Linked DNA regions of Homo sapiens: regions 2, 3, 4, 5, 6 and 7 are each linked to region 1. Evidence: promoter capture Hi-C in 16 types of primary human blood cells and fetal thymus (Javierre and others, 2016). All regions are on one chromosome and are shown on one strand. Each heading gives the region's core, a stretch centred on a gene start or on the middle of the fragment in contact. The rest is flanking DNA. Distances are from core to core; before and after follow the strand shown. Region 1 holds the start of FOXL2 (forkhead box L2). Region 2 overlaps ESYT3 (extended synaptotagmin 3). Region 3 overlaps ESYT3 (extended synaptotagmin 3). Region 4 overlaps MRPS22 (mitochondrial ribosomal protein S22). Region 5 has its middle 36 kb from the start of MRPS22. Region 6 overlaps PIK3CB (phosphatidylinositol-4,5-bisphosphate 3-kinase catalytic subunit beta). Region 7 overlaps CEP70 (centrosomal protein 70).

The links. The method cuts DNA at HindIII sites, captures the fragments that hold promoters and counts their contacts. A CHiCAGO score of 5 or more calls a contact.
Region 2: a contact is called between a fragment that was not itself captured here and the fragment with the promoter of FOXL2 in region 1, in 1 of 17 cell types (megakaryocytes). The highest score is 5.5, in megakaryocytes.
Region 3: a fragment that was not itself captured here is called in contact with the fragment with the promoter of FOXL2 in region 1 in 3 of 17 cell types (erythroblasts, megakaryocytes and M0 macrophages); the score reaches 9.2 in erythroblasts.
Region 4: a contact is called between a fragment that was not itself captured here and the fragment with the promoter of FOXL2 in region 1, in 2 of 17 cell types (megakaryocytes and erythroblasts). The highest score is 5.5, in megakaryocytes.
Region 5: a fragment that was not itself captured here is called in contact with the fragment with the promoter of FOXL2 in region 1 in 4 of 17 cell types (megakaryocytes, naive CD4 T cells, endothelial precursors and 1 more); the score reaches 6.3 in megakaryocytes.
Region 6: a contact is called between a fragment that was not itself captured here and the fragment with the promoter of FOXL2 in region 1, in 1 of 17 cell types (neutrophils). The highest score is 5.4, in neutrophils.
Region 7: a contact is called between a fragment that was not itself captured here and the fragment with the promoter of FOXL2 in region 1, in 1 of 17 cell types (megakaryocytes). The highest score is 5.6, in megakaryocytes.

Annotation. Positions count from the first base shown.
Region 1 is chr3:138,945,401-138,949,360 of GRCh38, forward strand. It overlaps FOXL2 (forkhead box L2), which reads right to left and starts at 1,737. Exons shown (of 1, transcript NM_023067.4): 1 at 1-1,737. The coding sequence starts at 1,322. The coding sequence ends at 192. It overlaps FOXL2NB (FOXL2 neighbor), which reads left to right and starts at 1,817. Exons shown (of 3, transcript NM_001040061.3): 1 at 1,817-2,064. The coding sequence starts at 1,965. RefSeq lists a silencer at 1,753-1,981. The HindIII fragment of the contact is 4,318 bases long and covers 1-3,650 here.
Region 2 is chr3:138,452,214-138,456,335 of GRCh38, forward strand. ESYT3 (extended synaptotagmin 3) reads left to right here. Exons shown (of 23, transcript NM_031913.5): 3 at 2,981-3,115. Among named protein-coding and RNA genes, the nearest start is that of ESYT3, 20 kb to the left of the region's middle. The HindIII fragment of the contact is 3,063 bases long and covers 1,182-4,122 here.
Region 3 is chr3:138,468,333-138,472,394 of GRCh38, forward strand. It overlaps ESYT3 (extended synaptotagmin 3), which reads left to right. Exons shown (of 23, transcript NM_031913.5): 13 at 323-385; 14 at 487-549; 15 at 1,104-1,172; 16 at 1,728-1,814; 17 at 2,545-2,694; 18 at 4,031-4,062. Among named protein-coding and RNA genes, the nearest start is that of ESYT3, 36 kb to the left of the region's middle. The HindIII fragment of the contact is 1,873 bases long and covers 1,877-3,749 here.
Region 4 is chr3:139,347,255-139,350,088 of GRCh38, forward strand. It overlaps MRPS22 (mitochondrial ribosomal protein S22), which reads left to right. Exons shown (of 8, transcript NM_020191.4): 3 at 906-1,070. Among named protein-coding and RNA genes, the nearest start is that of MRPS22, 4.7 kb to the left of the region's middle. The HindIII fragment of the contact is 228 bases long and covers 1,436-1,663 here.
Region 5 is chr3:139,305,752-139,309,909 of GRCh38, forward strand. No RefSeq gene overlaps it. Among named protein-coding and RNA genes, the nearest start is that of MRPS22, 36 kb to the right of the region's middle. The HindIII fragment of the contact is 5,231 bases long and covers 1-4,158 here.
Region 6 is chr3:138,660,663-138,664,674 of GRCh38, forward strand. PIK3CB (phosphatidylinositol-4,5-bisphosphate 3-kinase catalytic subunit beta) reads right to left here. Exons shown (of 24, transcript NM_006219.3): 21 at 3,244-3,367. Among named protein-coding and RNA genes, the nearest start is that of FAIM, 54 kb to the left of the region's middle. The HindIII fragment of the contact is 8,823 bases long and covers 1-4,012 here.
Region 7 is chr3:138,503,971-138,507,725 of GRCh38, forward strand. It overlaps CEP70 (centrosomal protein 70), which reads right to left. Exons shown (of 18, transcript NM_024491.4): 13 at 1,325-1,495. Among named protein-coding and RNA genes, the nearest start is that of ESYT3, 71 kb to the left of the region's middle. The HindIII fragment of the contact is 1,527 bases long and covers 1,186-2,712 here.

The sequences.
Region 1 (3,960 bases), core at 487-2,986:
CTGAGGGGACAAAGAGGAGCGACAGGAGCTTAGGAAAGCGAAAAAGCACAGAGGGACCCTGGGCGCTGGCTCCAGAGGCGGGCCCAGAGGGTGTGAGGTCAGGCTGGCGGCGGCGTCGTCGGCTGCGACCGGGGCCGGCGTCGCGCGTCCCTGCATCCTCGCATCCGTCTGCACCGGCATGCGGTGGGCTCTCAGAGATCGAGGCGCGAATGCAGCGCGCCGGTCTTGCTGTCGTGGTCCCAGTAAGAGCAATGCATCATGGCGAGCTCGGGCTGCCGGGCACAAGCGAACTGCAGGCCCGGCGCACTGGTGGGCGCGGGCGCCGGGGGCGCGGCGGTGGCTGGGCTGGCAGGGCTGAGCTGGCCCGGCGGCGGCGCGGCGGCCCCGTGGTGCGGTGGGGCAGGCGGCGGTGCGGCGGCCGCGTGCAGATGGTGTGCGTGCGGATGCGGGTGGGGGTGCGGCGGAGGCGGGGGTGCGGCCGGCGGGCCTCCCAGGCCATTGTACGAGTTCACTACGCCGGGGGGCAGCGCCATGCTCTGCACGCGTGTGTACGGCCCGTACGAGGCGGCCGGGCCCGCCAGCCCCTTGACCACAGCGGCCGCGCCAGGGCTACCGGGGCCCGCGGCTGCAGCCGCAGCTGCTGCAGCCGCTGCGGCTGCCGCCATCTGGCAGGAGGCATAGGGCATGGGTGAGGGAGGCTGCGGTAGCGGCCACGAGTTGTTGAGGAAGCCAGACTGCAGGTACTTGGGGGGCGCCAGGTAGCCGTAGCCGTCGGCCCCGGCGCCCGCCACGCCGCACCCGCCTGCGGCGCCTCCGGCCCCGAAGAGCCCCTTGCCGGGCTGGAAGTGCGCGGGCGGCGGCCGGAAGGGCCTCTTCATGCGGCGGCGGCGCCGGTAGTTGCCCTTCTCGAACATGTCTTCGCAGGCCGGGTCCAGCGTCCAGTAGTTGCCCTTGCGCTCGCCGCCGCCCTCGCGCGGCACCTTGATGAAGCACTCGTTGAGGCTGAGGTTGTGGCGGATGCTATTTTGCCAGCCCTTCTTATTCTTCTCGTAGAACGGGAACTTCGCGATGATGTACTGGTAGATGCCGGACAGCGTGAGCCTCTTCTCCGCGCTCTCGCGGATCGCCATGGCGATGAGCGCCACGTACGAGTACGGGGGCTTCTGCGCCGGGTCCGGCTTCTCCGGGGCTGTCCCGCCGCCACCCCCACCGCCCTTGCCTGGGCTCGGCGGCGGCCCTTCTGGCTCCTTGACTGTGCGACCGGTCTCTGGGGCCAGCAGGGCCCCCGCCGCGTCCTCGGGCTCGGGGTAGCTGGCCATCATGACAAAGCCGGCGCGCCGCGGCCGGGCCGCCTCTGCTCTCCGCTCCAGGCGCTGGCGCGGCAAAGAGTTGGGGCGCACGAGTCCGCTTACGGCCAAGTCTCAAACTTCTGGAGACTGCGGATGCCGCCCGCGCTTGCTTGCTGGAGGCCTGTCGCTGCTCTCCCCTCTCCTTCCCCTTCCCCTAGGGAGCGGCCGGCGGGAGTGGAGCTCAGCCTCTGGCCATGGGGAGTCCGCCCAACAGAGAGGGGCTCCGGCCTCGCCGCCCCTCCCCGCTCAGGCCAGTCCCCGCCTTGGTGGGTTTTCTTTTCTGCGCTCTTCCCCTCCCCCCGCCCCCCGGTTTCCCGAAGCACGACCCGCGTCTCTGGCGGAGCTGCCTCCTGGAGTCCCTAGTGCGCCAGGAGCCTCGCTCTGTTCTGATTCGTATGGGCTCCACCGAGTTCCGCTTGCGTCAGGCGCCTTCGCCCCTATAGCGGGGCGGCCAGCCGCGCACGGGCGAGTTCATCTCCAAGTCACTTTTTGTAAACGCCCCGCACAGCCTGGACCGGCCTGCCCCCGCCCAGCGAGCCTCAGGGGCCCAGCCGACAGCCAGGCTCACGCGCCCTTGAAATCTGCCGGTACTCGCTCTGCGGGCTGGGCTGGGAGATGACGAGGACCCCGGTGGGGTCTGCCCGCACCCGGCCAAAGCCCAGGAAGCTCGGGCCCCAGCGAGGAAAGGCGCTCCAAGCCTCCTCGCGGCTTTCAGGTGAAAGAAAACGACTCCTTTGCTCTGCCGTTTGCTGCCGTCTTGAGGCTGAACTTCTAGCTCGGGGCTGGGGAGGGGCGAGACGGCGAGGGGGCTGGACGGGGTAGGGTGGGGAGAGCTGCTCTGAGGCTTTGGGAAAGTCAGCCCAGAAACGGGTGTGACTGTACGAAGAAGCCTCGGCCTGGCCTGTCCCTCGCGCTCTCAGAGTGACTGGGCTGGAATGGGGCAGGGGAGAGGATCTCTGGAAATAGTCGTCAGGGGCGCCGCCTGAATCACCTCTGCCTCTCCCTGCGTTACCAGTGGATCTAGGAACCAGGAATCCGTGTACTAATCCTACGGGGTTGGAGTGAAGGTTGGATGTGTGCTTTAACAGCACCAAGTAGATGCCCCTCAGCTATTGCACTAACACAGGCGGGGCTGTTGCCCGGGACTTTGCGGGACTGTGTATGTGTGTGCACAGGGGTCACATATGGAAGTCATGGAGAGGAGCTGTCCTTGAGATGGGTGAGATACCAGGTGCATGTGTGCTGCTCAGAAACACAGGTATGCACATGTACAAGGTGTGAGATTTGTATTTACGAGGTAAAACACACTTATACTGATAGTTATGTAATATGTTCATCAAGTATTAGAGTAAATGTAGCTGGTGGATATAGCATCTTCTCTTTTTCTCCTTTCTTACTTCTTTCCTTCCCCCCTTTCTTCCTTTCTTTCACAATTCTTCGATGCCTCTTTCCCTCCCAGTGTATGTATTTTGCCACAGACTGGGAAGACAAACATCAGGCTGAGGGAGGGACTTGTTCAAATCTCTCTCCTGATGAGACATTTGTTCTGATCTTTCTCCAAAGAATCAGGAGTTAGTTGTCACCTACCTTAAGCAGAATTCTGATGGGAATCCAATTATTTCAGCATGTACAGAGATTGTTTCAGGGAAAATCAGGTGTGCCTTTTAACAGTGTGCTCCTTAACAGTGCCTTTTAACTTGGCCTAAACAAAAAGTCTGCAGTCATAAAGTATGAGAGAGATGGCCAGTGTTTTGAATCCTCAAGCCCCAAACTCCTTGGTGCTGAGGAGGGGGGCAAGGCCACCTTATGGAGGAAGGTGGACTGAATGGATGTCATATAGCTGTGCATTAGTGATTGGCATGTCTGGAGTGGCTGACTCAATGCCTGTCACTGCCTCTTCCTCCCAGGCTGTTTAGACTCTGAGGGTTCTCCTGAAGCCCAAGGAGCCTTCAGCGGCCTGTGGTTCCAGCATCCACAGGCCATCTACAAGTGTTGTCTGCTGCTCACTCAGGCCTCTGATCTGCATTCTGAGATGAAAGGGAGGGAGGACAAGGGTGGTAGGGCTCTTTGGAATTCAGCATCTTGAAGATGACACCAGAGAGGTCAGCAGGGCAGCCCTTGCCTGGTCACAAGGATGAGAGGGAGCAAGGCTATCCCCAAAGTAGCTTGGTTTTTTTTATGGGCGGTCTCCCACTGCACCCAACAGACATGGGGGAAGCAGCACTTCCGCAGAATCCCTGCTGCTGCTTTCTGAGCAGGAGTGCAGATGTTTTTCTTCTTCCTTACCCCCATCCTTGCCCAAGCTTTGGGTGGGAGTGGTGAGTCCGGTTTGGGGCTGCTGCAGATTGGCCTCAGTGCCTATCCTCCCCCAGCCAGGGCCTGGGCAGGGGGAAAAACAGCTGGGTCTGGCCCCATCCTGGTGGGGGCTCCTCTCTCCTTTTCTCTCCTTTTTTTTTTTCTTGACCACCCAGGCTGGCTCTCTGCGTCTCTCTGTCTTTCTTTCTTCTTCTCACAGGCATTTCCGCTGCTCAGCCCTGCAGCAGCCAGGTGTAACAGCATTGTTGTGTGTGTCATCACTTCCCTGAATTCCACACTCGGCTCCCTTTTCAGC
Region 2 (4,122 bases), core at 1,463-3,962, 490 kb before region 1:
CTCCCTTTCCCTCTTCTTTCACCAGAATGGCTCGCTTTTGTTAACAACAACAAATTGAAATTAATACGTGGTCACAGCAGAAAAATTAGAAAATACAGAGAAGTATAGAGAAAAGTACAATCCCCACTAGCTCACCAGGCCAGGAGCTGTACTTTCCTAGGGAGAGGAAGACATTAATTAGACAACAGCTTCTGGACACTGCCTGGTTTCCTGCCTAGATCCAACAGCATTTCTGTGCAGTCTTGGGCAGACTGCCTAACACCTCTGAGCTGGCTTCCTTATCCGTAAAATGGGAATAATTAGAGTCCTTGCCCTGGCTCGATTCACTGACATCACTACTGTAATTGCTGTTAGGTCACCCCTGGGAACTCCCCTTGGGCTCTGCTGCCAGATGTCCCAAGGAGGCTCCTGCTGGATGATGACCCTTGGCCGAGCCCTCCCCAGCAGGAATCCCGACTTCATGGAGGATGAACTGGAGGCCTGCCCCTCCCTGATCTGCCCAGACCTGTCCCTAACTGTGAGGGCTCCACGGCAGTCCCCAGCTCAAATCTCCTGACTGAGGAATGTTTCTAATACAAACCTTGCCTCTGGGAGGAGGCTTAGCCCGTAGCAGGAATGACTTAGGTTAGGTATAAGAAAGGACTTCCTGATGGATGTTGATCCAAGATTGCTGTTTTCACATTACCAGACGTGTCATTGCTGAGTGCATCAAAAAGCATTCCCTAGCCGGGCATGGTAGCACACACCAGGGTCACAACTCCTTGAGAGGCTGAGGCAGGAGGATCGTTTCAGCCTAGGAGTTCAAGGCCAGCTTGAGCAACATAGCAAGACTCCATCTCAAAAACAACAGTAACAGCAAAAGAACAGAGAACATTCTCAGCCTCTGGGTAAATTTGGAAGAAGCAGGTTGCTGCTTTAAGAGGAGTGACTGGGTTTCTGGGGATTCATGCAGGACCCAGCGCCTCTGGGCAAACCTTGTAGAGTTCCTCCTGCACTGTGTTAGCTGGTTCATGCACCTCTGCCTGCGTTACATCTTTCTTTCAGTAATACACAGAGGCCTATACAAGGCGTTGGAGATATAAGACTGTTGGGATATGAGGCTCCCACCTTCATCTTGGATGGGGAGACAGAGACAGTTGTGTAGGTAAACCACATACTAGGGCACCGAGTGTGTCCTAACAAGCTTTAAACTCAGGAGGCACTTGGCCAGTGACAAACCAGCAAGACAGGAAGATGAGACCAGACCCAAGAAAGTAGAACCTGGGGTTTGGAGAGGCCTTTGAGAGAGATGGGAACAATGAGCCCTAAAATCTCACAGCCTTTAGGCTCCTCCAATGATGGCTTTGGAAGGGGCACATGGAGGAAGGAAATGCATATTTAAACTGAAGCCCAAGCCCACAGGAAAGATACAGTCTTGTATCTCCAACGCCTTGTGTAGGCCTCTGTGTATTACTGAAAGAAAGATGTAACGCAGGCAGAGGTGCATGAACCAGCTAACACAGTGCAGGAGGAACTCTACAAGGTTTGCCCAGAGGCGCTGGGTCCTGCATGAATCCCCAGAAACCCAGTCACTCCTCTTAAAGCAGCAACCTGCTTCTTCCAAATTTACCCAGAGGCTGAGAATGTTCTCTGTTCTTTTGCTGTTACTGTTGTTTTTGAGATGGAGTCTTGCTTTGTTGCCCAAGCTGGCCTTGAACTCCTAGGCTGAAACGATCCTCCTGCCTCAGCCTCCCAAGGAGTTGTGACCCCGCTGTGTGCTACCATGCCTGGCTAGGGAATGCTTTTTGATGCACTCAGCAATGACACGTCTGGTAATGTGAAAATAGCAATCTTGGATCAACATCCATCAGCTCGGGTAACAGGGGGACCCTATCGCTACAAAAACATTAAAATGCGTGGTGGTGCACGCATGTAGTCCCAGCCACCCAGGAGGCTGTGGTGGGAAATCACCTAAGCCTGGGAGGTTGAGGCTGCAGTGAGCTGTAATCATGCCACTGCACTCCAGCCTGGGCGACAGAGTGAGACCTTGTCTTAAAAAAGAAGGCCAGGTGCTGTGGCTCACACCTGTAATCCCAGCACTTTGAGAGGCCAAGGCGGACAGATCACTTGAGGCCAGGAGTTCAAGACCAGTCTGGGCAACATGGTGAAACCCTGTCTCTAACTAAAAATAAAAAAAAAATTAAAAATTAAAAAAATTCACTGGGTGTGGTGGCAGGTACCTGTAATCTCAGCTACTTGGGAGGCTGAGGCAGGACAATCACTTGAACCAGGAGGTGGAGGTTGCAGTGAGCCGAGGTCGTGCCATTGCACTCCAGCCTGGGCAACAAGAGCGAAACTCCGTTTGAGAAAAAAGAAAAAGAAGATGGAGAAGCCTTGCCCCAAACAGAAAGTACCTGCTGGCTGGCCCGCCCTCCATTCCCCTCTGATTTCCACCATCCTCCCCTGTCTCTGCCATCTTCCTTCTCCCCAGGTCCTGCACTTCATTCCCAAATCAGCACAGTGAGTCATTCTGCTGCAGAAATCGGGCAAAGGCTGCCTTTTCTGATTGCTAGAAAATGAAATCCACAGGAAACAATTTAACTTTCTCTTCTGTAATTTTTTTCTTAAACTTCTGGCATCTGCTACTTTTTGTTTAAACCACAGTGTAGAATGAGATTATGTTTTAGCACAGAACTAAAGGGCTTTCTAATAATAAATGTAGTGAATGAGTATTTCTTGGTGCTCTGCGGAATAGCACCAAATCTTGGGGTCCTGCTGCCTGCATGACAGTGGGAACCACGGCTGTAGTTATCAGATGTTTGACGGACAGACAGATGAACAGGTGAGCAGATGGGTGGGCAGGCAAGCAGGTGAGTGCTGCAGCATAGGAACCCCCACCCCAAGACCAGGCTGCAGAGAATCAGGACCTTGTCCCATGCAGCTGTGGGTCTGCAGTGGGGGTACAGACCTGACTACCAAGAGCCTCTTCCCGTCTTCACAGATCATCTCTCAGACCTGGCCCTACCTAAGCATGATCATGGAAAGCAAGTTCCGGGAGAAACTTGAGCCCAAGATCCGAGAGAAGAGCATCCACCTGAGGACCTTTACCTTTACCAAGCTCTACTTTGGACAGAAGGTGGGTGTGTCTCGGGAGGGTCAGCCTGGACTGGCTGTGCAGTCTTCTCTCTGTTCCCTCTCCTCCCACCTTTCTCCCACCCAGGTCAGTCATATGACTGCAGAGATCCCACTGGACCTTACAGGGGGACACCCTCCCGCCACCACCTGCATTTCCCAGCCTGTCAGCCTCAGTAGACACCCTTCCCCCACATCCCTGTACCATCATCTCCCCAGGTTCCAAGGAAGCCTGGCTCAGAGGGAACAGAAAGGAGAGGTGGGAGATATTTCCACTTTTCTTAAGGAAAACTTTGAAGACACGCCATGGTGGTAGCCAGACAGATACAAAGATGGAAATCATAGTTGCTAACCTCAGAGCCGGTGAACACACGCTCACAGTTTGGATAGTCAGTGCCGCCTAGCGCTTTATATTCTCCACTAATTGGCTGTTATGGCACTCAGTGTTACAAGTCCATGCTAGTTCTGTGAAGATCAGCAGGTGTCCCAGGATGAAATGGTCTGTGGCCAATGAAGTTTGTGTCAGCACACCTAATGTCATGGTCCCTGTTCTAGACTGGGCTTCCTGTTTCAGCCTTGGTGCCCTACGCCTCCTGCCTCGAAGTGCCCCTAGTGACTTGAATCTTTTGATCATCCAAAATGTATCCCTCAGCCAGAGACCACTGTGACCCAGTAAATGAGAGGCACTGGCATCCGGTCTTCCCAGCAACGAGCAGGTGTCCAAGTATAGGCCAGCCTGCTGAGAGAGCTGTCTGCCAGCCCTTCCTGGCTAGCCCCTGGGCAGGGGTGGATTAGGCAGGCCTGAGCCCTGGAGATTGGGATTTCTGCCATTCAAACTGGCTTGTGCCAGCATCTGTTGGTTCATGCATTCATTTCTTGTTTCATTCACCTGTGACTTATTGAGCACGTGCTGTGTGCTGGGCATCATAGAGTTGGGTGTGGCTGCACCCCTTCCTGTGGGAGGAACACATCAACTGGTGGATGACAACGTGGCAGTATCTGCGTGCATGA
Region 3 (4,062 bases), core at 1,563-4,062, 480 kb before region 1:
CACACAGGGCAGCTCCTGATAGCTCTCAGCAAATGTCCTCTGAGCATCTCCATCATCTTTAGATGATGGGGTCCTTAGAACTCTGTGTCAATGCCTGTCCTCCCAGTTCATAGGGAAATCCACTCAGTGTCTAACTTGAATCTGTCATGCACCAGTTATAGTCTTAACCTCAACAAAATGCTAGGTTGTGAGAGGTCCTCCGGCAGCTAGTCTGGAGTGTGAAGGCTAGCTGGCTTTCTTCTGCCATGAGTAGGCTTCTCCAAAATCAGTCTTTGTGTCCTGCTGCTGGGAGTACCCAGTGAGGGTCTGTGTCTGTTTGCAGGACCATGGTGGCCTTTCCACTGCCATTCTCGTGGTCTTCTTGGAGAGTGCCTGCAACTTGCCGGTGAGTGGCGACATGTCCAGAGTGTCACACAAACGCAACAAAGTGCCCATCACTTTCAAATTGTCCTGTGTTGCTTTAACCCCGTTATTCCTGTGCTGCAGAGAAACCCTTTTGACTACCTGAATGGTGAATATCGAGCCAAAAAACTCTCCAGGTTTGCCAGAGTGAGTGAGTATGTGGCTAAAAACTCCAGGGAGGGCAAATCACAGCTTCTCTCCCCAGAGTAACCACAACCCCATGTCTTCTGGGCCACAGTCTGTGCACACACAGCCTGGGGATAACAAGAGGTGCTGATTGTGGAGTCTACTGTGTGCCAGGCACTAGGCTTGGCAACTCATCCCCCACATTTGTTATCCCTGAGTCTCATGATGACTGTGTCATTCATTTTTATTACCATTTTCTGGGTCACACAGCTAAGAGGAGGAGCCAGATTCCACACTGTTTTCATAGCCCCAGGGAACGAGAGCCTGTGCCTGGCCAGGCCCAGCTCTGGCTTCTGGTCTTTTAACTTGGAACTGCTTTCTGGGGTTGGTCCTGTCCTGGGGCTCGCACAGTAATGACAGCCCAGGGGGACTGGGGCATTAGAGTAGCTTTCTCTCAAAGAGAAGTAACTGGGTGGCCCCAGTTCCCCCAGATGCTCCTGGGGGTTGGGGGTAGGACTGTCTCAAGCTGATATTGACTATGCCACCTTCACTGTTATGGATTTGATTCCTCACAGAACAAGGTCAGCAAAGACCCTTCTTCCTATGTCAAACTATCTGTAGGCAAGAAGACACATACAAGTAAGGTAAGACAGCTTGGTGTGTAGCCCTGGGGTAAGGAAACAAGGACCCAGCCCTTCTCAGGGAGAGAGGCAAAAGGGAGGGGAATTAACTTATGGTGAATGCCTAGTAGGCACTTGATGTTATTTAGTCTTCAGAATAACCTCACAAAATAGTTTTATAATTCAAGAATCTGAGGATCAGAGATAAATGACTTGACCAAGGACACAGAACTAGGGTTCAAGCTTGGGCATGGTTCTGAAGCCCATGTCCTTTCCACCAATCATGAATTTTCTCAGTCCAGCAGCAGAAATCCTGTTGGCCTCTCCTCTCCTGAAGTGAGCTCTAAGGCCAATATGATTTTCAGCTCCCCCGTAAAAATTCCTGGCAAACCACTCCCTGCCTTTGAGTGTTGTCCCGTCCTAGTGCCTCCCACTAGCTGTAGCGTGTTTGGGTCTGATCCCAGGGCATATAGGTAAGGTTCCCAATGGTACCTGGTGGCCAGAGTGATAGCAGAGGGTGCCGGTATCCAGCTCTGCCCAACCTAACCCTTCAATGATCTCTCCCTCTTCTGTTCCCAGACCTGTCCCCACAACAAGGACCCTGTGTGGAGCCAGGTGTTCTCCTTCTTTGTGCACAATGTGGCCACTGAGCGGCTCCATCTGAAGGTTTGATGGAAGAAGGGCTCTTGAAACAGAGTTAAGAGGTTTTTAAGCCAGGCGGGCTGGGAAGCTTGAAGTGCACCTTGAGCAGGTTCTCCTGGCAGCGTTTAAAGTCAGCCCCTTGTATGTAAGAGAGGACACTGAGGCCCCACAAGGCCTCATCTCCTTAAGGCTAGTGCCTGAGGTCACTGTATAGGGGGATGTGGGAGGATAAATCCTCAAGTCCCTTGACTTTCCCTGCAAAAGGGTCTTTATATTTGCTACACAGTACCCAGAGCAGCCTATCTACACAGGACATTAATAATGGTGTACTTTAAAAAATATATGTTTCATTTAATCTTCACAAAAGATCTGTAGAGTAAGCAAAGAGAGGCAAAAACAATGTCTTGTCCAAGATCTCATGACCAACAAGTGGTGGAGCTGGGATCTTTTAGGGCCCTGAGCCCTGCCTGGAGAGCAGCACAGCTCATCAGTCCCCAAAGCCCCCTGGCTCTGGGCATTTGACAGACTAGCTCATACAGATCATAATTGCCTCTACTCTGAGTCACTATCTTCCCTGACAGAAGACAAGGACCAGGTCTGGCCTGATCCCATTCTAGTTTTCAGAATAGGACCAGATGCCCATAGAAGCACAGTACAGACTGAAGTAAACCCAAACTTGGCTGGGGCTCAGATACTAGTAGTGGAGTGGTGGGGCTTGGTTATCCTCTTGTTTTGTGACTGGACCACTGCCCAGGTGCTTGATGATGACCAGGAGTGTGCTCTGGGAATGCTGGAGGTCCCCCTGTGCCAGATCCTCCCCTATGCTGACCTCACTCTTGAGCAGCGCTTTCAGCTGGACCACTCAGGCCTGGACAGCCTCATCTCCATGAGGCTGGTGCTTCGGGTAAATCTCTCCGGTCCCCTGGGGGAGGGGAGGAATAGAGCTCTGGCAATGGAGCAAGGTGTACTGCCCCAGCACTAAGCACCTGCTGTGTGCCTGGAAGAAGCCAGGAGATGGATTCATGTTTTTCATCAATTTTGAAATACTGAATGGGAGCAAGTCAATATTCAAAGAGATACAGGCTCTTCAAATATTGCCTCTCCTCCATTCTTCTTAAATTCCTCTCTCTAGAATTTTCTATAATGTACCTTCTCATCTATCCTCCATGTCTCTTGACCTCAACTAAATATTTCCCTTCTCTGTATTCATGGTGGTACATTCTAATTCTCTCAAGAGCTATCTTCCAGGCCACTAATTCTTTGGCTATGCCTAGTTTGCTGTTTAACCTGTTCATAGTTTTTTCAATGGTGGTTTTTCATTTCTATTTTTATCTTTTCCAAATCTATTTGGTATTTTCTCATAGAATTTTATTATCTTCTCATGTTTATATTCCATCTTTGGTCATTTGAAAATATGTTACAATGTATTAATATGTATGTTCTATTATTTGAAGATCTTGGGAGTTAAATTTTGATGTTTGTTTTGTCTGTTGATGCTTTTTGATGGTGACTCATTTCTGTTTTATAACTTGGATTGCAAACATATGTTCAGTGTTCCTTTATGACCTGGATCGAGGTTGTTCTCTTCCAAGGAGCTTCTGCTTTTGCTGCAGCTCAGTACCTCAGGTGCATTACAAACTTGAGTCCATTTTTGTGTATATTTCTTAACTTTGGGTTTCAAGATCCCATAGGTAGCTCATATTTATACTCAAAATTCATATGAGGACAGGCCTATGAGGTGCCATGTTATTAGGAAAGACTTTATCCCCTCAACCAGAGTACAGGCTGTGGCAAACACATGTTCTTGTCATCAGTCTTTGCTGGTAGGCCGAATAATTTTTATCCTAAACTACTTTTTTAACTAAAGAGATCCCACCTTCATGGGTCTTCCCTTCAGCTCCTAGCCTCACAGCCTCTTCTAACTCCCTGAATTCCAAGGTTGATATACAACCCTAGGAAAGCTTAACTTATTTTTCAGATTTTTTCTTTTTTTAACAGAATTATCCTTATTTTCTTGTGAATTTGGCTATGCATTTCAAAGGATGTTTGCTTCATTTTATTTGGCATTTCTAACAAGTTTTTCAGAATATTTGGAACACCATATGTATTACTGGAAATGGAAGTTCCCTAGGAAGGGTCTTTATAATTCACAACTGAGGGGAAAGGGGGAACGGGAAACAATGGCTGAGGTTGTGGAAGTGGTGACTCAGCTCATAAGCCACCCTCTTATCTGCTTGCAGTTCCTGCAAGTGGAGGAACGAGAGCTGGGGAG
Region 4 (2,834 bases), core at 300-2,799, 400 kb after region 1:
GGTCTGGGTGTTCAGAGAGTATCCTCTCTCCTCTCAAGGCAGCCTGAGCACCCCTCCTTTTTTCTGCCTGCTCCAGCTTCCTTCCTGGAGAAACATCTACTGTGATCTGCCTTGGGGCTGAAGCTTTGGGGAGATTGTGAGATCCTGCATGGAAACAGCATGTTTTCCAGGCACCAGTGTCCTCAGTACCATGGGTACTGAGTGCTGCGTGGAAAACACTTTGATGTATGAATACGTAAAGCATTAATACTCGTCTTTCTGATTCAAAAGTAATTTATAGTCAGCAAAATATATATATCTCTCTCCAGTAGTAGATTACATGAAGAGTAAAAGTCCATCTTTTCACCTCCTAGAGGTAACTGCTTTTAACAGTATGGCATGAAGCAATGTAGTCAATGGTTAAGAGAATGGGCTTTGAAGTTGGGTTGTCTAGGTTCAAATACCAGTGTTGCAATTTTCTAGCAATTTACTTAACATCTGTATGCCTCTGTTTTTTCTTCTGTAAAATGGAGATGATAACAATTGCACCTAACTCATAAGGTAATTGAGGCCATTAAATCAGCCAAATACATTTAGACTGTTTGAACACTATCTGGCACATAGTAAGCACCCCAAAACTGCATTCTTTTATTCTGTTTCAAGCAGCTTTTGTAGCCTGGCTTTGTCTCAGAGCATGCCTTTGTGGTTTTGATAACGGTTGAGTCTATAGCTGGTGGTCTCAGCCACATCGCAGAGGCAAAGGCCAGGGCTCACAAGTCCAGGTTTGGCTTTTTACTCACTGATTTGTGGCTACACCTTCTTTTCTATGCAGGTTTTTGCATTTTTTATTAGTATGTGCTTTTGTCAGATGATCCTTATATTATGTAACCTTGTGGCTTTCCTTAATAAATATTTTCTTTCATTAGGCTACAAGACAGGCAGTTGAGGCAGCTAAAGTACGATTAAAAATGCCACCAGTTCTGGAAGAGCGAGTACCAATAAATGATGTGTTAGCTGAAGATAAGATTTTGGAAGGAACAGAAACAACCAAATATGTGTTTACTGATATATCATATAGCATACCACACCGGGTGAGTATATGTCTAATCGCAAAATGATCTTTCTTTGAAATACTATGTGGAGAAGGGCTTGAGAGATGATGTGACCTGGCTGTCTCTGATGCGTCCAAACCAGATTTCCTCTGACTGGGTGAGACCCTTCTGGAAGATATACTATATGAGGGATGAGAAATGCAGACCAGCCCCACATCATGGTGTTACCATTTCTCAGCAGATAATAGGCACAGTATTTTCCAGATTCCAGATGTGCTGAGGCAGAACAAGGAGTACACAGATACAGACAGAAACCCATCCCAAACCACAAATGGACAAAAATCTACAAGGCAATGGAAGCAGGAGACTCTTTTCGCCTAAGTTAGATGGATTTCTTTAGCTGAAGCTTTTTGAGAAGATAGAATGTTTCTGTCTTATAAATTCCTTGATGATGCCAAGAAACTCAGGCATCATAAAGGATTTTCGCTTTCCAGAATTTTCAGTAAGAATGACAGATGTTTCTCAGATAATTTTCAGGCATCACCACTTCTTCTGTTGTGATTGTTATTCTCTGGCTCCTCTTTACTTGATTGCAAATTTAAAAGAACACTCTGGCATTTTAGAAATATGTAAGCTTTGTATTTGAGCCTTTGCAAGTAAAGAATAAAAAGAGAATAGTTTACAATTCAGCCCACAGAATACGTTAGAACACTATAGAATGCTGAGTTTAGGAGAAGGTTCACTCCATATTAATCTTTTATTATACATGATTATGGTTAGAAAACGATTTGAGCTATGTTCAACACCAGCCATCTGTATATTTGACATAATGAACATGAGTCACAGAGTTTCAATTTTAATTACAGTTTTTGTTTTGTGATGCTTTAATATATGTTTGCAGTGCTGTGCATGTTGGTTGGGAAGCATTTTGTAACTTGAAAAGGAGAAAGGAACTTGGAATTCAGGTTTCTCAAATTACCAAAATCCTTCTGAGGAAAAATTGTATTATGTTGGCATGTGCTTTTTTTTTTTCGATTGGCAGTGTTGATGGAAGTTTCATCTATGTTATCTTCAGAACACATTTAGAGACTCCTACACCTCTGAAAACTTGAGAGTCAGTACTGTTTGGTTAATTTATACATTAATCAGGTGTGTATCAATTATCAGCAATGTGCAAAGCTCCATGTATGCCACTCCCGGTATTGCAAAAAATTATAATCCACATTTCCTGCCCTTTTCCAGTTATATAACAATATCTGAGGGATGCCAAAAATCTTGTGTGGGGTAAATTTCCAGTTGAATGGTATAAAAAGTAGGTAGAATTTAGAGGAGGAAGTGATCCCATGGCCTGGGAGTTGGCAGTTGGAAGATCGAAGTGACCAGAGACAGTTGGACCAGACAGCCTCTCAGACATGTTTATGTCTAATGCCAATATAAGAAATCATAAAAGTGTAGAAGTAAGACTCCTCATTCTTGGGTTTGTTCTTTTTATCCCAAGGACTTTAAACATAGATCATAAAGTAGTAAAATCTGTTTAGATGAGACTTTGGGATAGAGAAATGAAAGTTTGGAAAGGTCATAGCACTTCTTTCCTCTAAAATGGATATAGATGAATCTCAGCTTTTTTCGTATCGAACTCACGTTAGCACCATAGTTGGTACTTACTGAATACTTTCATTTTAGATTTCTGATTGTCAGATGCACAGCAGTGATTAGTGAAGGAAATATCAAACCTTGCCAAGTCTTTGAGGTTTAAAATTATCATTGATCTCATATGCATGATTGCATTTTATATTGTTGATT
Region 5 (4,158 bases), core at 908-3,407, 360 kb after region 1:
GGACACTCCTTCCACCTAGGGGGACCTGCATTTACTCCCCTTGAATCTGGATGGGTGTGTATGACTGCTTTGGCCAATAGAATATGGTAGAAGTGCTATTATATGACTTCTGATTTTAGGTCATAAAAAGGATACAGATTCCAGTTGTTTCCCTCTCTCTCTCTTTCTCCCCACAACCCCACACTCTCTTTTGGGATGCTTGCTCTTGGAACCCAGATGCCATGCTGGGAGGAAGCTCAGGTCACATGGAGAGGCCCAGGTAGTCCTGCAGTCAATAGGCAGCATCAACCACCACACATTGTGAATGATCCTTCAGATGGTCCCAGACCCTAGCTCAGGCCCAGACATTGTGGACAAAGTGTCCCATCTGTGCTAAATTCCTGACCTCTGGAAACCTTGGAGGTAAAATATAACTATTGTAGATTTGAGTCACTAGGTTCTGGGATAATTTGTTAGGCAGCAATAAATAGCTGGTGCATAGGCTCTGTGGGGAGTCCGGGCCACAGGAAGAGCTGTCGGGATCTCTGGGGAGATCACTAAGTAAACAGACAGTGACTGTGTTGCTTGATAAGGGCCATAGAGGGGAGCACAGAGAAAGTGTGTCTGACTCCCCTGGGGTACTGGGGATGGGGGCTCAGAAAGTCTTCTTGGGAGAGGTGACATGTCAGCTTGGTCTGGAAGGGCTAGAGTTAGCCAGCTGAAAGGAAGGATGAAAAATGGGGAAGAATGAAGGGAGGGGGCACTCCAGGGGGAAAACCTGGGCCAGGGCCATGTCCCTGGGAACTGGCTGCTCAGGGTGTTATCTGGCTTTTCTAGGTGACAAATCTCTCTAAGAACTGATCATTGTATAGGGTCTCACAACTGGCCAAGCCCCTGCATCTACCCAGGACAAATGAAATCAAGACTGTGGCCTTAGAAATCCTGTTCCAGGCCAGGGCCTAGGTACTGGCAGGGTATGAGGCGGTGGCCCACAGACAGCAGTGAGGAGTTATCCCAGAGCACATCTTTCTCTTGGGCTGTAGCAGCCTCTGAAAGTACTGGAAACCAGCAGGGGAGGGGGCCAGGGGCGAGATGGGGGTCAGTAGCATGGCCAATGCATTTGGGCAGCATGGGAAAATCCTGAAACAGCTTCCTACTCCAGGGGAAAGGTGTTTTTAATGCAAATTACAGCAGCATTGTTACCTGTAAGTTGGTGCTGACTTGCTAGGGCAGCAAGGCTGGCATTTGACTCCTTTAGATGTTCCCCATGGCCGAGTCCCACTCTATGAACTGCCCTTCTCTGAACATAGCTTCTCCCTGGTGGCCTTGGGTTTTTGCCTGAGCCCCTTCTCATACCCGGAGTGCCCATCCTGCTATTTTTATCTAGTCCCTCACCTCCTCCAGGAAGCCCTCCAAGAACCCTCAGGCTCCTCAGGACTCTACAGCCCCCTGTAACAGCCCTGGAATATGGTGGTGCCATGGCCTGTTTACCTGTGTGCCTCCCCAGCTGAATGTGGGCTTCTGGAAGGTGCAGGCAGTATCTTCCAGGGCCCAGCCCAGAGGAGGCCTTCTTTAAAACCTTGCTTTTGGGTGATAACCAGGATGGATGTTCCTTTATCTCTGTCATGAGATCTGTGAACACAGGAGGGACTCATGTGCCCTCCACTGCCCTCTGCAGAGCCTTCCACACTGGAGCATTTGCTAAGCACTGGCTGAATGAATTATGTGTCTCTGTGATCTTCAGTCCTAGGCCATGAATATTTCTGGGTCTGCTCATTGAGAACTTGCATGCAGATAGCACTCCATAAGTGGTTGTTGGATCGAGTTGAATCAGATTCCAGGCTAAGGACAGTGGGATACTGGGGTGGATGAGCTTGGTGTGTCTGGGGGTATGTGTGTGTCTTTCAGTACCTCTGTGTGGGGGTCGTATCTAGATGTGTGTGTTTGTGTGCATCTGTGACTGAGTGTCCATGTGCATCTCATCTTGGATGAGTCCATATGTGTCTTTTGTGATTGTGCATGACTGTGTGTGTTGCGTGTCTGTGTGGGGATGCTCCCTCTGAGCTAAGAGCAGGGGATAGAGACAGCCACCACCCAGTCAGGAGCCAGCCAGCTGTGTCTCCATGGAGTCTCTTGCCTGCCGGGTCCCAGGACAGCCAGCCTAGCCTAGCAAGACTCAGGCCTTTTTTGCAAGTTCTAAGCAGTGGCACAGACACAGCCCACAGTGCTGCCTGCCCACCAGCCCCCGTGCCTGGGTGGTGTGCATGTAGATGGGGCCAGCATCTCCCTGGCCTCCTTGCTGCTCAGTAAGGAATGGATTATAATTCCCAGGCAGGCTGCATCTGCAACCAACTTGAGGGAAATAATTGTTGAGCGAGTTGAAAGAAAAAAATTGTAGCAAGGAACTTCAAGCCAGGCAGTCATCCGTGTCATTAAATTAGGTTAATCTAAATCCTCAGAGTCTAGTGTAGCAGCCTCTAAAGCAAACCCTACATGGCTCTTTGGAGTTCCCATTGTAAAGTTCCCAATAGGGGTGTTCTTCAAGGGACACAGTAGGCAGTAGCCTTGCAGCCTGAGGACACACAGAGCTTGTGACAGATACCAGTTCCTCCTCAGGGACCTGGCTCTGCAGGAAAAGGCATGAGATGAGAGGCAGGCCCCATCCTTGTGCTGCCCCTTCCTCTGTGTGAGTCCCCCAACCACTCCAGGCCTCATTTGCTCTTGCCCAGCTCACAGGGCCTATTAACAAATGCCAAGTGGGCCAAAAGGAAAGGAAGAGGGTCCCTTGGATGGGAGAAGCTGGGGTGGAGGTGAAGCCTGAATTACTTCAAACTTGCCTTAGTGTTGCTCCTCCAAGCTGGGTCTTTTTAACACCAACCAATGGCTGAATTGAAGAAAAAATGAGAGATGAGTCTGTGCAAAAAGTCCCACTCTTGTAAGGACTGCTGTAAATCATTAATTTATGACTGCATCCAGACATTTACTGACTCATTAATTCAATCATTTTCCCCCTCCTTTATTCATTCTTTTATAGATCCCTCAGTCCCTCATTCTCTCTTTGGTTTAGTCATCCAAAGGTCTCCCTCCCTCCCTCCCTCCCTCCCTTCCTTCCTTCCTTCTTTCCTTTCCATGCTTCGAGGGAATTGCCTGGTATGTGTTCGTCCCCGTGGCTGTGTAGAATGAAAAGCACTTCAAGTACCCTGCCCCGAGGACCAGTGCCCATGCTGTGGCCCCCCAGCTTGCTCCTCTCCCTCTCTCCTTGTGTCTTGCTCCCCACTGTCCCCTTACTGGAACACCATTTCCTCTCTGCTCCTCTCCCATAGGGAGCACATGAGCTGATGGTGGGCTGGTGAGGAGGCCTTTGTCAGGGCACTTGGGAGGAAAGGTGCTGAAACTGACCTGATAAATGAACCAGCAGGGATGTGTGGCCTGGCTCCCCCTCCCCCTTTGATCAAAAGCCTCTGAACCCCTGATGACATCCCACAGCATATTCCTCTATTAATCAGAAAAGCCTTGACAGATGTAAGCAATTTGTCTTTGGAGAGGACTGGAGCAGGGGTGGGGGAGGTGAAGCGAGGAAGCCCAGCTCAGCCCATAAGGGTGGGGAAGATACTGAGGGTAAGTCTTGAAATGGGGCTGAATACATGCATACTAAGAAGGCAGGGAGCAAGGTAGAGCCAGTCAGATCAGAAAGGGAAGTGCTTTCATTTCCAAGCATATTTCCTCCTTGATTGAGTAGCCCCTCCCAATACCACCACCAAACCACGAAGCAGGAATGAGGCTGAGATCCAGGGGTTAATCCCACTCAGACTCCTTCAGGGCTCAGATGCTTAAAGCAACAGGGGCCTGGTGGGTATGGTTCAGGCGTGGCTCTCATAACGCCACATGGCTGCTTCGGCTCTTGCCTGCTGATGACAGTGATGCTCAGCTTAAAAACAACATCAAACACCTAATGAACCTGCCATTCAGCAGATTGGGAGCTGGGCACGGGAGATGCAGGAGAGAAGAAACAATGTCAGTTCTCCAAAACCCCTAGTCTAGACTATCTGGCAGATAAATTAACCAGGAAATGGGTTTTGATGTGAGGATGGTCATGGGAGGGAGCATACAATATACAGTGTGGAGTGGCCAGCCCAACAAGAGGGGTCCTTTCCCAGAGGAGAAGACACAGCTGCATCT
Region 6 (4,012 bases), core at 64-2,563, 290 kb before region 1:
TTGTATTCCTGAAAACTGCTGAAAGACTAGGTTTTAAATGTTATCATCACAAAAAAAGATAAGTATGTGAGGTAACACACAGGTCAGCTCAATTTATCAAGTCCACAATGAAGACATACTTCAAAACAATATGTCGTACATGATAAACATATTCAATTTTTGTCATTTTTTAAAAGTATATTAATCCTTAGCTGACCATTCATATTTAACAATGAATCACTAAAAAGCTGAATGAAAATTCTATGTACATGGTAGGCTTGCTTGTTGATTGGTGGACTTCCTTGTATAGAAACTAGGGAGAAATCTCAACTGTCAGATCTGCAGGACTTTTCAATGGAACCAATCAGATTTCTAGAATAGAATCACCTAGTCTTTTGATGAGGGTCAACTATACATCTGGCTGCCACTGTTCTTAGAATAAAGCAAGTGGAAGTGGCTGCAGATTGTACCATTTACTACGCCGACTTTCACTCCATCTCCATTTTTAATATGGGACCCTTTCTTGTAGTCTCTGTAGAAATAAGTGTGCTTGAGTCAGAACCAGTTTCTTCAGAGAATAAATCTATCTCCTTCTTGGCATAGGGAAGGGGACTTGAGTGCCTAACTGTTCCATATATAAGCTGCCAACTAGTTCTGTTTCAGCCTCTTTCTGTATCCCTCCTTGAACAGTATACATGGTGCCTCTGATTCCAGAGCTTTTATGGGACTTGCGTACCCCTTTACAAGTACTGACTTTCTATTTTCTCAGTTCTGCTAAGTCACTGCCACTTCTCTATCTCACTTTCTATCACCCCGAAGTCTGGTAATAGGTTTCACCCACTGTGGCCTATTTTCCTATCATCTTTGACTTCTTGAGTTTATATATTTCTTAATTCCTTATTATTGTTTTAGAGGTGTAAAAGAAGAAAATGGAGATAAATCTAAGTGTTTAATGTGATTGGACGGAAGTCCAAGGGACTCCTTTTAAGTATGGACACGAGATTCCTCAATCGTACATGGTGCATTCATGTATTATAGTGCATTACAAATTCATTCCACATCAACTCTCAAAGCCCAAGCCAGAACTAATCCAGATTTCCAAGGAGATACAAAACTGTGGGTCCCTCATAGAACCAAAGTTCACACAGTGACCCAGAGAGATTTTCATTCTAGTATGCCTCTAATGTGGGAATTCCTAGGGGGGCTAAACTGAAAAATTATCTAAGATATCTCATCTGTTTTTGCTTAACATAAAAAGTGTTTACAAATATGTCACTCTGAAAAATGAAATTTTCATTTGAAAACTTAAGTACTTTATAAACAACATGGTCTAGATTCCCTAGGTACCCCAGAATGCTATTACTCACACGACTGTTCTCCCTTCTCCCATATATAATTAGGTATGATGTTCTAAAAGAGAAAATAACTCAAGTGGGGTTCATCCCAACTTTTTTTTTTTAGCATTGGTAATCTTTTTTTTTTTTTTTATTTTAAGTTTTAGGGTACATGTGCACAATGTGCCGGTTAGTTACATATGTATACATGTGCCATGCTGGTGTGCTGTACCCATTAACTCGTCCTTTAGCATTAGGTATATCTCCTAATGCTATCCCTCCCCGCTCCCCCCACCCCGCAACAGTCCCCAGAGTGTGATGTTCCCCTTCCTGTGTCCATGTGTTCTCATTGTTCAATTCCCATCTATGAGTGAGAACATGCGGTGTTTGGTTTTTTGTCCTTGTGATAGTTTACTGAGAATGATGATTTCCAATTTCATCCATGTCCCTACAAAGGACATGAACTCATCCTTTTTTATGGCTGCATAGTATTCCATGGTATATATGTGCCACATTTTCTTAATCCAGTCTATCATTGTTGGACATTTGGGTTGGTTCCAAGTCTTTGCTATTGTGAATAGTGCCGCAATAAACATACGTGTGCATGTGTCTTTATAGCAGCATGATTTATAGTCCTTTGGGTATATACCCAGTAATGGGATGGCTGGGTCAAATGGTATTTCTAGTTCTAGATCCCTGAGGAATCGCCACACTGACTTCCACAATGGTTGAACTAGTTTACAGTCCCACCAACAATGTAAAAGTGTTCCTATTTCTCCACATCCTCTCCAGCACCTGTTGTTTCCTGACTTTTTAATGATTGCCATTCTAACTGGTGTGAGATGGTATCCCACTGTGGTTTTGATTTGCATTTCTCTGATGGCCAGTGATGATGAGCATTTTTTCATGTGTCTGTTGGCTGCATAAATGTCTTCTTTTGGATTAAAGACTTAAACGTTAGACCTAAAACCATAAAAACCCTAGAAGAAAACTTAGGCATTACCATTCAGGACATAGGCATGGGCAAGGACTTCATGTCTAAAACACTAAAAGCAATGGCAACAAAAGCCAAAATTGACAAATGGGATCTAATTAAACTAAAGAGCTTCTGCACAGCAAAAGAAACTACCATCAGAGTGAACAGGCAACCTACAAAATGGGAGAAAATTTTCGCAACCTACTCATCTGACAAATGGCTAATGTCCAGAATCTACAATGAACTCAAACAAATTTACAAGAAAAAAACAAACAACCCCATCAAAAAGTGGGCAAAGGATATGAATAGCATTGGTAATCTTTAAATTTAATACATCCAGTACATTATCCGCTCCTTCTGTTAGGTACAAATGTATCCCAAATACTATTTCTTATATTGAAGAACAGGCCACTTTAACTACAAAAATTTTTTCAATAATTTTTTTTTGAGATGGAGTTTCACTCTTGTTGCCCAGGCTGGAGCACAGTGAGGCGATCTCGGCTCACTGCAACCTCCGCCTCCCAGGTTCAAGTGATTCTCCTGCCTCAGTCTCCCAAGTAGCTGGGATTACAGGCGCCTGCCACCATGCCTGGCTAATTTTTATATTTTTAGTAGAGACGGGGTTTCGCCATGTTGACCAGGCTGGTCTCAAACTCCTGACCTCAGGTAATCCGGCCGGCTCGGGATCCCAAAGTGCTGGGATTACAGGCGTGAGCCACCACACACAGCCTTTAGTAATTTTTTAAACAAATAAATGCTTACCATCAAGCAAGCAAACAAATGAATACATGTAGTAGACTATATATGAAACGAGAGGTAGTGAGAAATTGAAGTAAAGACAAAGATATGACACTAAGAATCACAAAAGAATCTGGCTGAGTTGCACAAGAGATTATGCTATACATAAGAAATAGCATTACTAAGGCCCTTGGCAGATCCTGAGGAGCAGCTCACCTGGCCAGTTTTTTTGACCATGATGTTGTCACTATGTCTGTCACCAATCCCAAGGACATAAGAAGCTACACAGTAGCCAGCACAGGACAGTGTAAATTCCTCAATGGCTCGGTCCAGGTCATCCCTGAACAAGAGAAAAGAACAGAAGCAAAAAAGGTTTTCAGCCTCCAAGCGTGTAGAGTGAGACCCAAACCATACCTCTGTTTCCTTTTTAATTGTGAGGAGAACACAGAGCTGCCAAAACCGTATGAGAGAACATGTGGATCAGCCAAGGGGAGTGTGGGTGGTCTTCACAGGGGCTGGGCTGAGAGAGCTGCCTTCAAAGACATTAAATAACTGGGCCTTAGATATTCAAACGTCCTGGGAGCTGTGTTTCGGTGGGGCTGTGAGTAGACTAATGTTCACAGTACTTAGAAGAGACCATGGCTTTGCTAGATCATGCTAGGGGTTGGGCACATTTTAGTTAGTTTTGACCAAAGACTGACTACAATTTCATGTTTAAGAGTTAAGCACTGCAGTTTCAAACATTTAAGTCACTGATTTCAATTAGAAGTAAGTAATAGAGATTCCCTGGAGACAAGGCCTTAAGATCAAAATTTGGAAACTGATTTGCATATTACAAGTTCTCGATAAAATGTGTCTGACTCTGAAGTCTTTAGCCAAAAATACTTGCAGACCATTTCCCCCTCACACTGTGAAGTTCTTTTATTTCCTATATATTAGTGCTTTTCTAACACCATAGCCATAATTCCAAACATTGCATTTTTTA
Region 7 (3,755 bases), core at 699-3,198, 440 kb before region 1:
GCATGATAAACGATCAATAACTATCCATTAGTGTGATTCTTCCCTTTGTCTTCTTCCTCTTCTAGTCTTTTCTTCTAGGAAGGCTAGGGCTTTTTCTAGTCCATCCCTTCTGAGATGAAGAAAGGTGGAGTCAGCACTGTTTCCTCCTACTGGGAGAACCCTCTGACAGGCAGTGATTGAGGAAATACCATGATTTACACTATTACTAATTATTTTACACTCTTCTGAGATACAGACTGGAGGAACTCCGGTCTATAAAGTAAGTATATTAATCTAGCACTGTCACTCAATCAAAATGTTTATGTATTGTATAGCTCTGTCTGAGCCCTATATAAAAAGGGAAGTCGAAATTTAAAAAAAATTAACATCACCACCCCCAATTTTGTTGTCTTGGAATATAATATTCTGCTTCATTCCTTTTAACAAATATTAATTGAGCACTCATTCATCAGGAGGATCTTGGGGACATATCAGAACAAATAAAAACACTGTCTTCATGGAGCTTATACATTCTTAACAGATATCTTCTGCATCATTTGTACTTCATGTAATAAGACTTATGTTGCAAACACTGTTATTGAATCACATTTTCATTAACAGGCATATGCTATGTATTATATTAGTTACTAATAAATCTAAAGTGTAAAGGGCAAAGAAGTTAAATACTACTGATTTCAACTATTTACCTTTCAGCAAACTAGTTAACAAAAACTGAAAAAACCTGAAGCTATGCAATAAATACACAATAACTCTATAAATAAAATGTGGTCTTCCATGAAGAGATAGGATAGGGAAGGGTAGCGTTGGCTGCTAGCTTACTATCTGTTCTAGAGAATAAGCAGAAATGGAGATAAGCTCAGTTCTGAGAGACAGAAAATAAAGTGTGAAGAGAGAGAAAATATCCCCAATTATAATAAAATGAAGGATAAGACATTATATCTGAAGAGGGATAAGGGCCAGGAAAATCGCAGCATGGAGATATGAAAAGGAGGCAGATGAAGGTAGAACAGGGAAGGGCCTAGAAGTACAAAGTGGATCCACTATAGATTTTCAATAAGGAAACTAACCCCAAAATTTCTTGTTTGGTAGAATCTTAGAGGAGGTAAAGCTTACAGTAATGACAACATCAAATAGACAGTACCTAAAATAGATATGTAAGTAGGAAGATTTCGGTTTTAGATAATAAGCTTTTTTAGCTTTAGAGTTAACACACAAACAAAAAAATTAAACCCTATTTAATTTTTAGCCCTGAATTAAGTCCTATTAATAAAGCACATAGAGTCCAATAGATGTTCAAAGCATATAATCATAGTCAACCCCTTACCTTTAAGGATGTCAGTTGATCTGCCCACATTTCTATTACAGGAACAAGATGCTCAAATCCACAATCTTGAACAAGATCTTTATTAAAATTTTGGACTCCCCCTTTGGTCTGTTTATAAATTATTACTGGAGCTCTTGGATTGTGGATAATTGAATTGATGCTACACAGCACCTTTAAAAAAACATAGTGTATATAGTCAAAATATTTATCCTATGCCTACAAAGTTATATATTTTAAAGGAGTGCTTTATGTCTATATATATTATATACACATATTTCATTAAATATACAAAGAAAATTATCATAAGGAATTGGCTCATGCAATTATGAAGACTGACAAGTCCCAAGATCTGCAGTGAGTAAGCGAAGACCCAGAAAAGGTAATGGGTATTTGCAGTCCAAATGCAGGCAGACTGAGACCCCTGCAAGTGCTAATGTTTCAGTTTGAGTCTGAAGGCAAGAAAAAAACCAGTGTCCCATCTTGAAAGCAGTCAGGGAGGAGGAGCTCCCTCTTATTCAGCCTTTTGTTCTACTCAGGGCTTTGAATCATTGGATGAGGCCCACCCCATTAGGAAAGGCAGTCTGATTTACTAAAGTCTACTGATTCGGATGTCAATCTCATCCAGAAGCACCTTCCCAGACACATCCAGAATAATGTTTAACCAAATATCGGGCATCCTATGCCGCAGTAAAGTTGAAACAAAATTAACTATTACAAACACTACCTAGGTTCAAAAATTGTTAGTATTTTGCCATATTTGCTCACTATCTATATTTTTAGGTGAACCATTTGAAGAAACTCTTCACCCTCAAATAATAAAGCATGCATCTTTTAAAAGTAGGCATATTCTCCTACAAACTCACAAGAACATTATCAGACTATTTAAGGAAATTAACAGCAATCCCCAGGCTGAGTGTGGTGGCTCATGCCTGTAATCCCAGCACTTTGGGAGGTTGAGGCAGGAGGATCACTTGAGCCCAGGAATTCAAGGCTGCAGTGAGCTATGATAATGCACTTCAGCCTGGGCAACAGAGCAAGACCCTGTCTCCAAAAATAATATCATTGATGCCTGGATTGAATTTTAGGTATCTTAATATATTAAGATAGTATACTATTTGACTATAACCCTCTCCCCATAAGTGATGGGTTCTACCTTACATATCATCCGAGGAAAAAAAGGGAGACCTCAAAAAGCATGTTTAAAGAGAGAAGAATAAAGCCATTTCCTATTACCACCATCAAGTTCAGCCTATTTAATAAAAAGTTTCACAATATAAAGATAGCATTTTGCTCTTGAATCTTTGTCCCTGGTCATACTTCAAGATATAACTAATAGGCCTCCTGGTAATATGACTTAAGATGTTTATTACTTCAGATGTTTATTTAGAAGCTTTTTAAGTCCAAATTAGTATAATTCAATATTTCACTTCAAATTGATGTATGTATATTTGTTTTATATATTTATTTGACAGAGTCTCACTCTGCAGCCTAAGATGGAGTGCAGTGGTGTGAACGGAGCTCACTGCAGCGTTGAATTCCTGGGCTCAAGTGATCTTCCCATGTCAACCTCTCAAGTGCTAGGACTACAGGCACAAGCCACCATGCCCAGCTAATTAAATTTTTTTTTTTCTAGAGATGTGGTCTCACTATATTGCCCAGGCTGGTCTCAAACTCCTGCCCTCTAGCAATCCTCCTGCCTCGGTCACCCAAAGTGTTAAGATTACAGGCATGAGCCACCATACCCGGCTTGAATTCCCCTTTTAAAGGACAAAGCCTCTCAAATTGAGTCTCAGAAACAAAATGAAATCCAGTTATATACTGGTACAAGAAAGTCTAAAACAAAACAGTTTTCAGAAAGGTGCTTGGTTCCCATTTACAATAGCAATAAAAGTTATAAAATACCTAGGAAATAACAAGGTATTTCCTAACAAGAAATATGCAAGAGCTAAATTTAAAAATACACAACACTTTATTGAAGACTATAAAAGATGACCCTGATGAAAGTACATATTTCTGAATGTGATGATTCAAAAAGGTTAAGGTGTCATTTCTCCAAATATTAATCTATAAAGTCAATTCAATTTTAGTTCATCTCAATGAGATTTATTTTTTAATTTGAAAAACTGTTCATCCAGAAGAATAAATGTGCTAAAAATATAGCCAATAAAAAAAATTTTTTTAATGATAGGATACTTGCCTCAAAGGCTATTAAAACTTTTAACTATAGAAATTAAAATATGGAAATAGTTGAGAAATGCAACAGACTAGAGAATCTAAAAACAAATCTGTGCATATAAATGAATATGATCTATGATAAAATGTTATTTCAATAAAGTAGAGAAAAAAGTAGCGTATTAGAGACTGCAAACACAAATGCCCAGAGAATTCAGGTACGAGTATAAATGAGTGACGTAAGGATGAATAGGGACTG